Linked DNA regions of Homo sapiens: all the other regions are linked to region 2. The links are contacts of gene promoters, found by promoter capture Hi-C in blood cells and fetal thymus (Javierre and others, 2016). All regions are on one chromosome and are shown on one strand. Each heading gives the region's core, a stretch centred on a gene start or on the middle of the fragment in contact. The rest is flanking DNA. Distances are from core to core; before and after follow the strand shown.

Evidence for each region. The method cuts DNA at HindIII sites, captures the fragments that hold promoters and counts their contacts. A CHiCAGO score of 5 or more calls a contact.
Region 1: a contact is called between a fragment that was not itself captured here and the fragment with the promoter of RXYLT1-AS1 in region 2, in 7 of 17 cell types (M2 macrophages, M0 macrophages, M1 macrophages and 4 more). The highest score is 11.7, in M2 macrophages.
Region 3: a contact is called between a fragment that was not itself captured here and the fragment with the promoter of RXYLT1-AS1 in region 2, in 2 of 17 cell types (M0 macrophages and M1 macrophages). The highest score is 6.9, in M0 macrophages.
Region 4: a contact is called between a fragment that was not itself captured here and the fragment with the promoter of RXYLT1-AS1 in region 2, in 1 of 17 cell types (monocytes). The highest score is 5.2, in monocytes.
Region 5: a fragment that was not itself captured here is called in contact with the fragment with the promoter of RXYLT1-AS1 in region 2 in 4 of 17 cell types (M2 macrophages, monocytes, M1 macrophages and 1 more); the score reaches 9.2 in M2 macrophages.

The regions. Positions count from the first base shown.
Region 1 is chr12:64,260,794-64,264,532 of GRCh38, forward strand. No RefSeq gene overlaps it. Among named protein-coding and RNA genes, the nearest start is that of KICS2, 40 kb to the left of the region's middle. The HindIII fragment of the contact is 639 bases long and covers 1,468-2,106 here.
Region 2 is chr12:63,820,041-63,823,481 of GRCh38, forward strand. RXYLT1-AS1 (RXYLT1 antisense RNA 1) reads right to left here and starts at 2,116. Exons shown (of 4, transcript NR_126167.1): 1 at 1,889-2,116. It also overlaps the pseudogene PABPC1P4. The HindIII fragment of the contact is 5,765 bases long and covers 1-2,683 here.
Region 3 is chr12:64,297,590-64,301,101 of GRCh38, forward strand. All of the region lies in intron 6 of C12orf56 (chromosome 12 open reading frame 56), which reads right to left. Among named protein-coding and RNA genes, the nearest start is that of KICS2, 77 kb to the left of the region's middle. The HindIII fragment of the contact is 156 bases long and covers 1,906-2,061 here.
Region 4 is chr12:64,183,382-64,186,939 of GRCh38, forward strand. It overlaps a transcript of KICS2 not described here. Among named protein-coding and RNA genes, the nearest start is that of KICS2, 37 kb to the right of the region's middle. The HindIII fragment of the contact is 767 bases long and covers 1,483-2,249 here.
Region 5 is chr12:64,277,743-64,281,497 of GRCh38, forward strand. C12orf56 (chromosome 12 open reading frame 56) reads right to left here. Exons shown (of 13, transcript NM_001170633.2): 9 at 1-61. Among named protein-coding and RNA genes, the nearest start is that of KICS2, 57 kb to the left of the region's middle. The HindIII fragment of the contact is 8,258 bases long and covers 1-3,755 here.

The DNA.
Region 1 (3,739 bases), core at 537-3,036, 440 kb after region 2:
CTTAGAGGGAGAGACTAGTGGAAGAACAGACTTTTACTGTCACATAAGGCAATCAAGAAAATTAATTCCATTCTGAAAATGTTTAGGTATGTTATAACCACACAATAATTTGTAAGTGAATTCTATGACTTGATGTATGGTTTATGCAAATCTGTGCAAGAATAAGCCATGCTATAACAAAGTGTCAAACTACTTGGGAAATGAGAATAAACCATATACTGTATATTTAAAGTACAAGGTCACTAAGCAAGTGAGTATTTCTGTTAAGATAATAGCTACCATTTATTGAGGGCTTGCTGTTTGTTTGAACCATATGGAATTGCAGATCCCAACATTTTCGGACTTGAAAATGGCAATGCTATATGGGTCATCCTAATATATAGTAACCATAGAATTAGATGTTTATATACAAATTAATTAATATTCACATATTCACAAAAACCCTTAAGGTAGGCTTCTTACTATCTCATAGTTTACAAAATAAAGGTTCTGGAAGATTTAAAATAACCTGCCAAAAGTCTGATGACAAGTAAGAACAAGGTCTGACATAGCATCTTATCCCAAAAGTTACACTACCCAGATTTCTAGCCAAGGAATCATGTTGCCTTCCCCAAAATGACAAAAGCTTCAGATCCACAAGGCACAGAAATACAGAGAAGTGCTTGGTCTGACGGCATGGAGAATGGCTGTCTCCCCACTATAGATACCCAAATTCAAGTTGACCTTACAAGCCTGCACTGCATTTATTTTATTTTATTTTATTTTTTATTTATTTTTTGAGACAGAGTCTTGCTCTGTTGCCCAGGCTGGAGTGCAGTTGTGCAATCTCGGCTCCCTGCAACCTCTGCCTCCTGGGTTCAAGTGATTCTCCTGCCTCAGCCTCCCGAGTAGCTGGGATTACAGGCACCTGCCACCATGCCCAGCTAATTTGTGTATTTTTAGTAGAGACAGGGCTTCACCATACTGGCCAGGCTGGGCCCGAACTCCTGACCTCAAGTGATCTGCCCACCTCGGCCTCCCAAAGTGTTGGGATTACAGGTGTGAGCCACCACGCCCGGCCTGTACTGCATTTTAGAAGCAAATCCAATGAACAAAGAGCAATCAGACAGTAATTTAACACTATTAAGAGTTGTTCAAAAATTCCCACCATGAACCTGGCATGCTGGCATGTACCTGCAGTCTCAGCTACTCGAGAGGCTGAGGCAGGAGGATTGCCTGAGCCCAGGAGTTTGAGGCTGTGGTGTGCTGTGATCTCACCTGTGAGTAGCCGTTGCACTACAGCCTGGCCAATATAGCAAGACCCCATCTCAAGAAAAAAAAAATCAAATTTATCTCGTCAAGAATTTTCAGCTTCTCTTCCATATTTATCACTGAACCTCTCTAATATGCAAATATGTGAAATATAAAACAAATGGTTGTAGCCTCAGAAAAAATATAATGGCACAGGTTGAAGCTTAGCAGCCAAAAAGCTTTCACTATGCTTATCAGCTGCCTTATAGAACATTTATTAATGTACTCTCAAGCATCTTCATGCAAAATTAAAAGTGGTACCGCCAGTGAGTGAGATTCAATATGAAATTATGTAAAACATGCTATCAGTTATAGGAACTTCAGGCTTTTCCCTCTTTGCACAGTAGCTAGAGTATCTAAATTTCAGTAAAACTCAAGAAATTTGGCTGGGCACAGTGGCTCATCCCTGTAATCCTAGCACTTTGGAAGGCCGAGGCGGGCAGATCACTTGACGTCAGGAGTTCGAGACCAGCCTGGCCAACATAGTGAAACCGTCTCTACTAAAAATACAAAATTAGCTGGGTGTGGTGGCACATGCCTGTAATCCCAACTACTCGGGATGCTGAGGCAGGAGAATTGCTTGAGCCCAGGAGGTGGGGCTGCAGTGAGCCAAGATCGTGCCATTGCACTCCAGCCTGGGGGGCAAGAGTGAAACTCAAAAAAAAAAAAAAAAAGAAAAGGAATACTTCATGTATCTCCTCTAACACTACCTGTAAATCCATTTGGAACTCTGTAAGTAAAGAATGGCTATTTCAATTTGGTCACTTAGCAATTACCCGTTCAAGTCAAAGGCTGAAAAAAGTTTAGGAACTAAAAAGCTTTCTGTCCACCCTTGGAAAGAGTGTTTTCCACGTAGATCTTCCATTGATGGCGCTAATTAGAGCCAACACTCTTTCCTGGTGGTAAGCAGTGAAAATAGTCACTTGTCAGGCCGGGCATGGTGGCTCACGCTTGTAATCCCAGCACTTTGGGAGGCTGAGGCCGGTGGATCACCTGAGGTCAGAAGTTCGAGACCAGCCTGGCCAACATGGTGAAACCCGTCTCTACTAAAAATACAAAAAAATTGCCAGGCGTGGTGGTGGGAGCCTGTAATCCCAGCTACTTGGGAGGATGAGGCAGCAGAATCGCTTGAACCCGGGAGGCAGAGGTTGCAGTTAGCCAAGGTTGTGCCATTGCACTCCAGCCTGGGCAAGTAGAGTGAAACTCAGTCTCAAAAAAAAAAAAAAAAATTCAAATGAATCTGTTCTCCAATGCTCTATAGACCAGGGGTTCTATGAGTACAGCGGCTGGTCCTCAGATTGGTTAAAAAAATAAGGCAATATTTATTAGTCTCTAAATTCTCACCCAGCTTTGTTAACTTTAACAATATATACCCCAAGTCTTTACTGCATGTCAGATACCGTGCTGTGTGCTAAAGCATTTATGTTTTCATTTAAATCTCCTAACACCCTTTGCAGTAGGTTATATTATCTTTGCTTTAACTGCAGCTTACAAATATTTGTAACTTCCTAAGGTCCAAAACAAGTGCAGAACTGGAATTTAAACCATTTCGGCTCCAAAACCAGTGTTCTTACCCGCATTATATATAGATGAAATTTTAAAATTATAATTATATATAATTACATATAATCTCTATATATTATTTACATATATATTTTTAATTTTTTAATTTTTATATTTTTATTTATTTTTTGAGATGGAGTCTCACTCTGTAACCCAAGCTGGAGTGCAGTGGTGCGATCTCGGCTCACTGCAACCTCCGCCTCCCGGGTTCAAGTGAGTCTCGTGCCTCAGCCTACCCCGATTAGCTGGGACTACAGGTGTGCGCCACCACGCCCAGCTAATTTTTTATTTTACTAGAGACAGGGTTTCACCATGTTACCACCATGTTCGTGGTCTTGAACTCCGTTGCTCGGGCAATCCACCTACCTTGGCCTCCCAAAGTGTTGGGATTGCAGGCATGAGCTACCGTGCACAGCCTATTTACATATATTTTTTATTTATTTATTTATTTATTTATTTATTTATTTATTTATTTATTTTTTGAGACAGAATCTTGCTCGGTCACCCAGGCTGGAGTGCAGTGGTGCAATCTCGGCTCACTGCAACCTCCGCCTCCGGGGTTCAAGCGATTCTCCTGCCTCAGCCTCCTGAGTAGCTGGGACTACAGGCGCGTGCCAACACACCCGGCTAATTTTTGTATTTTTAGTAGAGACGGGATTTCACCATGCTGGCAAGGCTGGTCTCGAAATCCTGACCTCATGATCCACTCACCTTGGCCTCCCAAAGTGCTAGGATTACAGGCGTGAGCCACAGTGCCCGACCTACCTATACTTTCAAATGGAGAGCTGATGACTGCGGGGGTAGGTAATGGTGGTAAATGGCAGTGCTTGTATTATAAAGATGGCCAAAGGGTTTAGAATCTTGACCCTGGCTGGAAAACTGTCCA
Region 2 (3,441 bases), core at 866-3,365:
CATGAATACACAAAAAACAAAAAGCAAGGAACTAAATCATATCACCAGAGAAAATAATATTTACTAAGGGAAAACAGGAAGAAAAGAAAGAAAGAAGACCACAAAACAGCCAGAAAACAATTAACAAAATTGCAAAAGTAAGTTCTTACTTATCAATAATAACATTGAATGTAAATTCTTCAATGGACTAACCTCTCCAATCAAAAGACATAGAGTAGCTAAATGGATAAAAAAATAAGACCCACTGATCTGTTGCTTACAAGAAAGACACTTCACCTACAAAGACACACATAGACTGAAAATAAAGGGATAGAAAGATACTCCCTGCCAATAAAAACCAAAAAAGAGCAGGAGTAGCTATACTTAGACAAAATCGATTTCAAGACAAATCTAAAGAAGAGACAAAGAAGGTCACTATGTAAGGATAAAGGGGTCAGTTCAGCAAGAGGATATAACAATTTTAAATGTATATGTGCCCAACACTGGAGCACTCAGATATATAAAGTAAATATTATTAGAGCTAAAGAGAGAGATAGTTCCCAATATGATACTACCTGAAGACTTCAACACCCCACTTTCAGCACTGGACAGATCTTCCAGATAGAAAATTAATGAATTGGACCTAATCTGCATTATAAAACAAACGGATCTAATAGATATTTATGGAACATTTCATCCAATGGCTGCAGAACACACATTATTTTCCTCAGCACATAGATTATTCTCAAGAATAGACCATCTATTAGGTCACAAAATAAGTCTTAAAACATTAAAAAAAAAAAAAAAAAAACTGGGCCGGGTGCAGTGGCTCATGCCTGTAACCCAACACTTTGGGAGGCCGAGGCAGGCAGATCACAAGGTCAGGAGTTTGAGACCAGCCTGGCCAACATAGTGAAACCCCATCTCTACTAAAAATGCAAAAACTAGCCAGGCATGGTGGAACACACCTGTAGTCCCCGCTACTCGGGAGGCTGAGGCAAGGGAGTCACTCGAACCCAGGAGGCAGAGGTTGCAATGAGTTGAGATCACGCCACTGCACTCCAGCCCGGGTGACAGAGGGAGACTCAGTCTAAAAAAAACCCTGAAATAATATCAAGCATTTTCTCTGACCACAATGAAACAAAACTAGAAATTAATAACAAGAGGAATTTTGGAAACTATGCAAACATATGGAAATTAAACAATATACTCCTGAACGACCAGTGGATCAATGAAGTAATTAAAAAGGAAATTGAAATATTTATTGAATCAAATGATAATGGAAACACAACATACCAAAACCTATGGGATACAGCAAAAGCAGTACTAAGAGGGAATTTTATAGCTACAAGTGCCTACATCAGAAAAAAAGAAAAACTGGCCGGGCGTGGTGGCTCACGCCTGTAATCCCAGCACTTTGGGAGGGCTAGGCGGACAGATTACCTGAGGTCAGGAGTTCCATACCAGCCTGGCCAACATGGTGAAACCCCGTTTCTACTGAAAATACAAAAATTAGCCCCTTCTCCCGGCAGTTAGTGCTCAGAGTGCGGAGTGTGTGCTCCAGGCTCGGAACATACATTTATTATTAAAAAAAAATCTAAAAAAATATTTTAAAAACTTTCCCACAATTTACAAAAAATCCGCCTCTCCCCTGCCATAGACTTTTATTTTTTTCTTCTTCTTCTTTTATAAAGTAACCCCGTGAAGCAGCCGAGGCCGACTCGCCCGCCCGCAGCAGCTCCAAAAAGGAACCAAGAGACCGAGGCCTTCCCGCTGTCCGGACTGACACCTCCACCTTCGCCCGCAGCCAGCGGCAGCGGATCAACACCATTCTGGGGCGGTGAAGTAGTTTTCGATTCCGGGTGATTTTTGTCCCTCTGCGCTTGCGCTTGCGCTTGCCCCCGCTCACCTTCCCCCAGCTCCGGCCCCTAGCCCCAGCATTCGCTCTCCTCCTCTCACGGAAAGGTCGCGGCCTGTGGCCCTGCGAGCAGCAGTGCCGAGATGAACCCCAGTGCCCCCAGCTACGTCCTCGCTGTACGTGGGGGACCTCCATCCCGACGTGACCGAGGCGATGCTCTACAAGAAGTTCAGCGCGGCCGGGCTCATCCTCTCCATCCGGGTCTGCAGGGACATGATCACCCACGGCTCCTTGGGCTACGCGTATGTGAACTTCCAGTAGCCCGCGGACGCGGAGCATGCTGTGAACACTATGAATTTTGATGTTATAAAGGGCAAGCCAGTACGCATCGTGTAGTCTCAGCGTGATCCATCACTTCGCAAAAGTGGAGTGGGCTACATATTCATTAAAAATCTGGACAAATCCATTGATAATAAAGCACTGTATGATACATTTTTCTGCTTTTGGTAACATCCTTTCATGTAAGGTGGGCTGTGATGAAAATGATTCCAAGGGCTATGGATCTGTACACTTTGAGACACAGGAAGCAGCTGAAAGAGCTATGGAAAAAATGAATGGAATGCTCCTAAATGATCGCAAAGTATTTGTTGGACGATTTATGTCTCATAAAGAACGAGAAGCTGAACTTGGAGCTACGTGAAAGAGTTCACCAATGTTTACATCAAGAATTTCGGAGAAGACATGGATGATGAGCGCCTTAAGAATCTCTTTGGCAAGTTTGGGCCTGCCTTAAATGTGAAAGTAATGACTGGTGAAAGTGGAAAATCTAAAGGATTTGGATTTGTAAGCTTTGAAAGGCTTGAAGATGCACAGAAAGCTGTGGATGAAATGAAAGGAGCTCAATGGAAAACAAATTTATGTAGGTAGAGCTCAGAAAAAAGTGGAACGGCAGACAGAACTTAAGCGCAAATTTGAACAGGTGAGGCAAGATAGGATCACCAGATACCACCGTGTTAATCTTTATGTGAAAAATCTTGATGATGGCATTAATAATTAACGTCTCCGGAAAGAGTTTTCTCCATTTGGTACAATCACCAGTGCAAAGGTTATGATGGAGGGTGGTCGCTGCAAAGGGTTTGGTTTTGTATGTTTCTCCTCACCAGAAGAAGCCACTAAAGCAGTTACAGAAATGAATGGTAGAATTGTGGCCACAAAGCCATTGTATGTTGCTTTAGCTCAGCGCAAAGAAGAGTGCCAGGCTCACCTCACTAACCAGTATATGCAAAGAATGGCAAGTGTACGAGCTGTGCCCAATCTTGAAATCAACCCCTACCAGCCAGCACCTCCTTCAGGTTACTTCATGGCAGCTATCCCACAGACTCAGAACGGTGCTGCATACTATCCTCCTAGCCAAATTGCTCAACTAAGACCAAGTCCTCGCTGGACTGCTGAGGGTGCCAGACCCCATCCATTCCAAAATAGGCCCAGTGCTATCCGCCCGGCTGCTCCTAGACCACCATTTAGTACTATGAGACCAGCTTCTTCACAGGTTCCATGAGTTATGTCAACACAGCGTGTTGCTAACACATCGACACAGACAATGG
Region 3 (3,512 bases), core at 734-3,233, 480 kb after region 2:
GTTCTCATTGTTCAACTCCCACTTATGAATGAGAACATGCAGAACATGTTTGGTTTTCTGTTCTTGTGTTAGTTTGCTGAGAATGATGGTTTCCAGCTTCATCCATGTCCCTGCAAAGGACATGAACTCATCTTTTTATGGCTGCATAGTATTCCATGGTGTATATGTGCCACATTTTCTTAATCCAGTCTATCACTGATGGACATTTGGGTTGGTTCCAAGTCTTTGCTATTGTGAATAGTGCTGCAATAAACATACATGTGCATGTGTCTTTATAGCAACGTGATTTATAATCCTTTGGGTATATACCCACTAATGGGATTGCTGAGTTAAATGGTATTTCTAGTTCTAGGTCCTTGTGGAATCGCCACACTGCCTTCCACAATGGTTGAACTAATTTACACTCCCACCAACAGTGTAAAAGCATTCCTATTTCTCCACATCCTCTCCAGCATCTGTTGTTTCCTGACTTTTTAATGATCACCATTCTAACTGGCATGAGATGGTATCTCATTGTGGTTTTGATTTGCATTTCTCTAATGACCAGTGATGATGAGCTTTTTTTCATGTTTGTTGGCTGCATAAATGTCTTCTTTTGAGAAGTGTCTGTTCATATCCTTTGCCCACTTTTTGATGGGGTTGTTTTTTGCTTGTAAATTTGTTTACGTCCTTTGTAGATTCTGGATATTAGCCCTTTGTCAGATGGATAGATTGCAAAAATTTTCTCTCGTTCTGTAGGTTGTCTGTTCACTCTGATGATAGTTTCTTTTGCTGTGCAGAAGCTCTTTAGTTTAATTAGATCCCATTTGTCAATTTTGGCTTTTGTTGCCATTGCTTTTGATGTTTTAGATATGAAGTCTTTGCCCATGCCTGTGTCCTGAATGGTATTGCCTAGGTTTTCTTCTAGGACTTTTATGGTTTTAGGTCTTATGTTTAAGTCTTTAATCCACCTTGAGTTAATTTTTGTATAAGGTGTAAGGAAGGGGTCCAGTTTCAGTTTTCTGCATATGGCTAGCCAGTTTTCCCAGCACCATTTATTAAATAGGGAATCCTTTCCCCATTGCTTGTTTGTGTCAGGTTTGTCAAAGATCAGATGGTTGTAGATGTGTGGTGTTATTTCTGAGGGCTCTGTTCTGTTCCATTGGTCTATATGTCTGTTTTGGTACCAGTACCATGCTCTTTTGGTTACTGTAGCCTTGTAGTATAGTTTGAAGTCAGGTAGTGTGATGCCTCCAGCTTTGTTCTTTATGCTTAGGATTGTCTTGGCTATGCGGGCTCTTTTTTGGTTCCATATGAACTTTAAAGCAGTTCTTTCCAATTCTGTGGAGAAAGTCAATAGGTAGCTTGATGGGGATAGCATTGAATCTATAAATTACTTTGGGCAGTTATGGCCATTTTCACGATATTGATTCTTCCTATCCATGAGCATGAAATGTTTTTCCATTTGTTTGTGTCCTCCCTTATTTCCTTGAGCAGTGGTTTGTAGTTCTCCTTGAAGAGGTCCTTCACATTCCTTGTAAGTTGTATTCCTAGGTATTTTATTCTCTTAGTAGCAATTGTGAATGGGAGTTCACTCATGATTTGGCTCTCTGTTTGTCTGTTATTGGTGTATAGGAATGCTTGTGATTTTTGTGCATTGATTTCGTATCCTGAGACTTTGCTGAAGTTGCTTTGATAAGCTTAAGGAGATTTGGGCTGAGACGGTGAGGTTTTCTAAATATACAATCATGTCATCTGTGAACAGAGACAATTTGACTTCCCCTTTTCCTATCTGAATTATTTCCTTCTCCATTCACTTTGGCCTTTCATTTTTGATAACTGAATTAGAAGATTTGTTTTAGCCCAGGTAAGAATATTATATTAAATAATGGCTGCAGTGTTTTCAAGTATAAAACAGATCATGAAAGCTTCATTTTTAGACATTGGATTAGGTTAATATTTCACAAGAGAACAGATTTGCAATTCAGTATGAATAACTTACAGCACCTGGAATATGCATGCATTGTGTTTTGGCCTGAGGGAGAATACAAAGATAAGTAAGACATATACTTGTCCTAAAGAAGCTTTTAGCATATTAAGATAAATAAGAAAAATGTGCCAATCACTATAGTAAAAGGGAGGATATCTGTGCTAATTCTCGATGGTAGAAACTGTATCATAATCATGCTATATTTCTAATACCTATCACCAAGCCTCACACAGATTAGGCATGAAAACTGTCTGTTAATTGTTAAAGAGGAAGTGCTATGAAAGATGTCATAGAACTACATTGTTCAACTCGGTAGCTACTGCCCACAAGTGTCTATTTAAATTAATGTAAATTTAATAAAATTAACGTTTTACTTTTTTAGTCACTAGTCACATTCAAGTGCTTAATAGCCACATGTGGCTAGTGTCTGCTGTATTGAACAATGCAGATTATAAAACTTCAAAGAAAGTTCTATGGCATGGAATTGACAGAGAAGATCAAAAGGAGGAAGGTACTAAAGTTCCCCATTAGGCATGACAGGAAAGGCAGAAAATGGCATTTGAGCTGAGCCTTGATGAATGGGTATGATTTTTAACAAGAGAAATTAGAAGAAGAGTATTCTAGAGAAAGCAAGCAGCAGGGAGAAAGGAGAGCTAAGGAGAACAAGTATCCAAGTTATCCTACATGGCTCGATCTTGTAGAGGACAGAGGTGAGAGAGAAGATGAAGTGGCGGGTCAGGTCTGTGAATCCTAACCTTACTCTCTTTCTCTCCATTCTTTTTTTGTTCCACAGCCTAGGCCACAGGTATCAGGCCTGTTTTTAAACTGAAGATGCTTAAATGACCTCCAGACTAACACTGGTGCTGATCCCATTAGGAATACACATCAACATCCTTCTTAATCTAACCCTTAAGTGGTACTTCAGTTCTCCTACCTAGACATGCACTTTAAATCCAGTCCCTGATTGTGTCCAGTGTATCTGGGTGGACTTCCCCTTTGAGCACTGTCCTAAGTCCTTTCCCAGTCCTCTCCTAACTGCTGGCTTTACTCTTGACAATCTTTATGTCCTCACATTCCATAAAACCCTGTTCCCACACCCTAAACAAGCAGATCTTCCTGGTGCCAAATGTTTGTGCAGACATCCAGTTGTAATTCACCCACATGCTAAAATATCCTGATATTTCATTTTGCTCACTCTTATGTAGAGATCACTCTCACCTTTGGGCACTGTGCCTTTTCCATGAGCATCTACATCTGGATTCATTTTCCCAGTGCCCACCTTATCCAGATGGTAGCCTGATATGTTCTGGTTCTGTGTTCCCACCCAAATCTCATCTTGAATTGTAATCCCCACTGTCGAGGGAGGGTCCTGGTGGGAGGTGATTGGATCATGCATGCTGTTTTCACGATGGTGAGGGAGTCCTCATGAGATCTGATGGTTTAAAAGTGGCAGTTTCCCCTGCACATTCTCTCTCTCTCTCCTGTTGCCATGTAAGACATGCCTTGCTTCCCCTTCGCCTTCTGTCATGATTGTAAGTTTCCT
Region 4 (3,558 bases), core at 616-3,115, 360 kb after region 2:
AAAAAATTCGCTCAAGGAGTTATTGAAGGTTTCAAAGAGGAGAGAGGAGAGGTTTACATTGTAACCTCACAACTGACACCCTGAGAGACCTCCCCCTATGCATTCTCCACCTGCTTTGCTGTAGTGCATCTAAGGGTCTATTTAATTCTACTAGGCTGAGTTGAGCCTCTTGGCTCCTCTCTCTATCACACCCAGCCATCTCTTCCCCCTGAACCATATTCTTTCTCCAGGGAAGGAAAAATGAAAGCCTTGCAGGTAATAAGGCCAATCCTACTCCAAGTATCTCCTCAAAGTATTTTCTCTAAACATTTAATACTTTCCCTAAGAATTTTCTTACCAGCTGTTAAGTAGTTGACATTTTTTCAATATTGTTACAATTCCCACCTGTAAAGTTTGATAAATCTATACGATTTTTTTTTAAAGCTAGATATCTCTTCAGGTGCTGGTGGTCCCCCTTCCTTGGAAGTTAATTCCCTGAGGACAGAGACAAAAAACTTATCTTCCTCTCCTCAATGTCATTCATCCATCCTTTTAAAATCAAGCAAGACTATAGGGGCTCAACTTTAATAACATAAAACATTATTGCTCCTGGAGATCTGTGTTGGTTTTCAAACTAAAAATGACATTTAATAAATACTATAAGAAGCACTTTCTCAAGCTTTCCAAGGACAACTATACTTGCTAGACTAGATAGTTACATTCACAAAAACTGGCCTTGTTATTAAAAAACATAGTAGGAAAAAATATGCAAATAAGTCACTTTGTCTGTATAAATGGTTTACTGTGGAACTGAATGATTCCACATCAACTTAGCCGTATATAATTTGGTCAAAAACTTTAACTGGAATGTCCAGGCCTTGGCCAATGGGAGCTTAAAATGAGGTCACATTTATTTGCTAATATCCATTAGGAAAATGTCAACTCCCCATTCTGCTTAATTACAGGAATTCCAGGCTCTTGACAAATTCCTCTGCTTACTATTTCTGGAAATCAGGACTCCAATCCAGTTGTCTGCTGCCTCCGCCACTCATCTGCCTCCTGACCACATTCCCTGTACACAGGCTGACAGGGGCTCTGTGGCATACCACCTTTGGCAATTCCTGGACTCAACCTTCCTCCTGCTACTGCTGCCCTCCCCTAAAAGAAGGCAGAAAACCCTCTTTTAATTCTTTGATCACATTGCTCAGCCCATCCACAACTTTTAGCAAAAACTTCTTGGAAAGTTCAGGAAAATAGAAGGGGGCATTATGGCATCAATATCTCAAAGCTGTACTGTATGTGGTGATTCCCAGAGAACAGCAGTTCAGATGTACCTCATGTCCCTTCAAGCTGGGATTCTACTGAGATATGGAAATATTATTCAAAAGATATGAGAATAGAGATCATTTTAAGAAAATCAATTTTTAGGAAATCAATTTCAGATTCCTCAACTTCCATATGAACTCTCTCCTAAGAACCTGTGAAAGTGCTTTTAGTAAACTAAGCTTTTTCTACCTTCTCCTTTAATAACTGCCTTTCTCTTACCAAAAAATAAACTTACCTCTCACCCATACGTTTACCATAGCGTATTAGGAGACCATTTTCCATGGGTTTTTTCATGTTCTGCAGGTCTTGAGAGTAAGGCATCAACTGCCCTTAGTTCTGCACTATCTCTACAGGTTTCAGTGGGAAGATGGCTCTGCCATCACCATGTCAGACTTCTAGCCTGCAGAACTGAGAGACAATACATTTCTGTTGCTTTAAACCATCCAATTTTTGGTATTTTGTTATGGGAGCTCTAGGAAACCAACACACTTACTGGCTGGAATAGGAATGTCTCCCTCTGGAGCAAAGGGAAGGCATGCTTACAAACCATTATAAAAGATTGGGGGACGGGCACGGTGGCTCACACCTGTAATTCTAGCACTTTGGGAGGCCGAGGCGGGCGGATCACGAGGTCAGGATATCAAGACCATCCTGGCTAACACGGTGAAACCCCGTCTCTACTAAAAATACAAAAAAATTAGCCGAGCATGGTGGCAGGCACCTGTAGTCCCAGCTACTCGTGAGGCTGAGGCAGGAGAATGGCATGAACCCGGGAGGCGGAGCTTGCAGTGAGCCGAGATCACGCCACTGCACTCCAGCCTGGGCGACAGAGTGAGACTCTGTCTCAAAAAAAAAAAAAATTGGGTTTCCAAAGATCAGAATTCTCACATGCATGTGAGCAGGCATCCATCTGGGCCCATCCACATTGGCCCTGATAGAACTGAAGCTTAAGAAATCAAAAATGCAAAAATGATGTTATCCAGCCCCTGCTATTACTAGAATAACTGTCTTGTGTCTTCTGTCCACATCTGTGAAACTATGTCAGGGAAAGTTGTTAGCTAGCAAATACGGTAAAATTGCAAATCCTTCCCAGTTTTTAACATGGGGTATTATTATCATAGGGTGTAAAAATATCTGTCCAACAAACAAAAGAACATTTAGACAATTTCTTTAACCAAATCACTGTAATATTATACCTATTCAAATTTCAATGTATTTCAAATTAAATATAACTTTTTTTTTTTTTGTCTTTTGAGACAGAGTCTCGCTCTGTCACCCAGGCTGGAGTGCAGGAGTGTGATCTCATCTCACTGCAACCTCTGCCTCCCAGGTTCAAGCGATTCTCCTTCCTTAGCCTCTCGAGTAGCTGGGATTACATGCGCCCACCACCATGCCCGGGTAATTTTTTGTATTTTTAGTAGAGACCGGTTTTACCATGTTGGCCAGGCTGGTCTTGAACTCCTGACCTCAAGTGATCCACCACCTCGGCCTCTCAAAGTGCTGGGATTACAGGCGTGAGCCACCGCACCCAGCCAAATGTAATTTTTTAAGTTTAATATTTATTAAAATGTCATTTGGTCATTAAACTCTTAGAGCCTATGGTAACACAAAAAACACTTACATCTATAATATACTGAGTAATATTTAATAAGGTAACCAATAAGACTGTTAAGCAAAAAATAAATTCATTTTAGGATAAAATTCTTCAGAAGAAGAAGAATGGAGTTCAGGGAGCAAAAGGAATCAAACAATATTTCCAACTGTTACAAAGCGTGTTAAAGTATTTTTAAAAATGGAAAATGGTAGCTATCAAAACTCTATTGTACCAACATTTCACTGGATACATTTAAAAGACCGAATAACATTTTAAAATGCCAATATTTACAATACATAATAAAATGCTTCTTTTGAGGCTATTTAAACATAATGATTTTAGATATTCTTTTAAAAAATCAATCAGAGTCTCATGGTTTTTCCAAAATTTGTAGGGAGGTATGCAAGTAACAAGTTTGAAGACTATTCACTGCCTACTTGTTACAGCCCTTTCAGCTCCTGGCCACCCGGGTGGCTGGGGCCAGGTCACCTTATTTCAAGCATCAACCAAGCAGACACCATGTTGGTCTTGGTTAACTGCTATATCATTACCCTTAACATAGTTGATGTTAAATTAATGAATGTTGAATATTAGAAATCATTCACCTCTTTCCATCCACTTCTGCTTCAGGGACTGCTCTGACACTGGCCTAGCCTGAA
Region 5 (3,755 bases), core at 499-2,998, 460 kb after region 2:
ACAAGATTTTGGAATCTGAGGCTCACTAATTAAAATTACCAAGAGATTAAATAGTGCTCCCCTGGAAAAAAATAAATAAAAGGCAATTAGTGAGCAAAGTGTTGAGAGGAAAAATGGTGAAGCCAAGTTTCAAACACTGGATATAATTATGTTTAAAAGAATGAAGCATTGCAGACCATCCTTGACTGAAGTTTTGGATCCTTGGACACGCAAATGAATAACTAGAGATAAAAAATTTAAATGAAAATATAACTTCTTGGTCTTCTGGCTCAGAGCGAGTGTAGTTCTAGAAGTCCACATAGCTTAGAAAGACTAGAAAATCTGGATTTAAGGGAGATTTGGGTAATTTCAATTATAGCATTATTTTCCAAAGGACTTTTTATGGATTGCTAATTCCAGACAATATTATAGTTAAAATAGATTCTGTGGTCAAAGGAGATAGGGGAAATACTTGGTTAAACCAAGTTCATCAGATGTGTTTACTACAGGACTTCTCAGAGGCTTTATATGCTAATATGCACAGTGTATCTCTGGGACAAAGCAACAGTATGCAGCTCTTCTTTTTTCTTTTTTTAGGTTTGTTTGCTTGGGTTATTTTTGGCACAGGATCTCATGATGTTGCCCGGGCTGGTCTTGAACTACTGGACTCAAGTGATCCCCTGCCTCAGCCAAGTAGCTGAGATTACAGGCTTGAGCGACCACTTTCAGTTTTTACTTTTTTTAATTGATAATAAAAATTGTATATATTTATGGTATACAACATGATGTTTTGAAATATGTATATACTGTAGAATGTGTACATATTTTATAAATCAAGCGAATTGACGTATGCATCACCTCACATGCTTATTTTTATATAGTGAGAACACAAAATCTATTGTCAGCAATTTTCAAGTATACAGGACATTGCTATTAACTATGGTCACCATATTTGTATGATTGATCTCTGGAACTTCTTCCTCCTGTCTAACTGAAGTTTTGTACCCTTTGACCAACATCTCCCAATTCCACCCCGCCCCTAAGCCTCTGACAACCACCATTCTACACTCTCTGTTTTTATGAGTTTGGCTTTTTTAGATTCCATATATAAGTGAGATCATGCATGAACTCAAAAGTCAAACTCGTATTTGTCTTTCTGTGCCTGGCTTATTTCACTTAGCCTAATATCCTCCAGTTTCATCCATGTTGTCACAAATAACAAGACTTCATTTTTATGGCTGAATAATATTCCATTGTGTATATGTACCACATTTTCTTTATCCATTCACCCATTGCTGGACAGTAAGTTTGCTTCCTTTTCTTGGTTTCTGTTAATAATGTACAGCATTTCTTTTTTTTAAATATAAAAATTTTTAAACATAAAGATGGGGTCTTGCTTTGTTGCCCAGGCTGGACTTGAACCCCTGGCCTAAAGCAATCTGCCCACCTCAGCCTCTCAAAGTGCTTGGATGACAGGCATGAGCCTCCACACCCAACTCCACCATTTTGTAAAATGCTTATTTGATCCCAAAAAACCTCAGTTATTTTACTTTCCAATGTGGGGTACCGTCCATTGATAACTCACTTAAATGTTACATGTGCATCCTGATGAGCTGGGTTAATAACGCTATCTCCTCCTATTGGGTAGTATAACCCCTGTATGGTTGAAAAGCAGCTGAAGGCAGACTGCTAAAAACTCAGTTGCCTAATTGAAGACAATGTCAGAGTAGATTTGAGGGGTAGGAGTAGTAAAATAATTCAAAGATAGTACTATACAAAAGTTCTCCATAACCATAAGCATTCCTTTCATAATGGAAAAAAGGAGGGTGAGTATAAATACCCTTGTTTAGTAGGATCTGAGGCTTTCTAATCTTCTTAGAATCATTTAAATCATCACCATGATTAGAAGCTCATGATTAACCTACACTCTAGTAAAAATACAATGCTCTTCCTTTCTCCAAGTCAAAAAGCAAGTCTAGTTCTTATATTTGGAAAGAAGAATCATGTCAGTTAGTACATTTCTCACAAAAGCAGGATATACCCTACAGGGTATTTAATAATGTTTTATTCAGGCTATTTAAAATGGCCAATCTTACTTTGAGAAGACCCTTTTAAAATCAACAGAACACTCCCTTTAGAAGTGTTTCTTGATATTGTTTGAACTGGCATTCCATTCACTGTTATATTTAATTATAGTCCTTTATTTTCAGTAACAGCTTATTTTCAAAGTATCATACATCCAAAGCAAAGAAAAAGAACTCTCAAATTATGGGTCACTTGCTATGATAACATATGAATTCAACCCTAACAATACTAGGATATGAAAAAATATGGCACATTTCAAGAAAGTTACAGCAAAGTATGTTGAACTAATGAAATCTCCACTCATGAAAACAATAAAGAGGAAAATGCTGAAATGATTAACCGCTTTTTTATTTACCCAAATGGAATTTAATTTGAAATCCACCCCTTCTGCTAATTCAATTTAAAATCCACTAGGACAATAATAGATAGAAGAAATTTTAATCAAAATGGTAGTTTCATCCTGAAAATAGAGATAACTTAGAGGATTGACATCACAGCCTTAAAAACAGTCCCAACAGTTTAATACTTTATTGTTTAGGTTGTTATTATTTCTAATGTATGAATTTTGAATGTACTACAATATCTTTAAAAATACAGACTTTGAAGGCCACATCGATAGTCTCCTAAGTCAGTCCATGTTATTGTGGTGGGCAGAAATCTAACGTGGCTTCCAAAATTCCCAGCCTGCTGGTACAAACCCTATCAAATTCCTTCCCCTTAAGTATGGGCAATAGCTCTGAATATGTTTGTCTGTCACTCTTGTGATTATGTTACATGAAATGGGAAAGATGAAGGGATTCTGAGAATATAATAAAGGCCCTAATTGGCTGACTGTTGAGTTAATCAAAAGAAGATTATCCAGAGTAGGCTTGCTCTAATCAGGTGAGCCCCGAAAAAGAGATACTCTCCTGCAAAGAAACAAGCCACCTGAGTCCCACAGCTGTAAGGAAATTTAGTCTGCCAGCAATCACCCAAATGAGCTAGGAAGAGTCCCAAGCCTCAGATGAGACTATGGCCTGGCCAACACCTCAACTGAAACCTCGTGAGACCCTGGGCAAAGGATCCAGTTAAGCTGTGCCCAGATTTCTGATCCACTGACACTGTGAGATAAGAAATACATGTTGTTTTAAGCCACTAAGTTTGTGATAATTTGTTATATGGCAATAGAAAACTAATACAATTTTGGCTGGGCACGGTGGCTCATACTTGTAATCCCAGCACTTTGGGAGGCCGACGGGGGGTGGATCACCTGAGGACAGGAGTTCAAGACCAGCCTGACTAACATGGTGAAACCCCGTCTCTACTAAAAATACAAAATTAGCAGGGTGTGGTGGTGCATGCCTGTAATCCCAGCTATTCAGGAGGCTGAGGCACAAGAATTGCTTGAACCCAGGGGGCGGAGATTACAGTCAGCCAAGATCGCACCATTGCACTCCAGCCCTGGCGACAGAGCAAAACTCTGTCTCAAAAAAAGAAAAAAGAGCCCGGGTGCGGTGGCTCATGCCTATAATCCTAGCACTTTGGGAGGCCGAGGCGGGTGGATTGCCTGAGGTCAGGAGTTCGAGACCAGTCTGGCCAACATGGTGAAACCGTCTTAACTAAAAACATAAAAAAAATCAGCCGAGCGTGGTGGCACACACCTGTATCCCCAGCTACTTGAGAGGCTGAGGCAGGGGAATTGCTTGAACCAT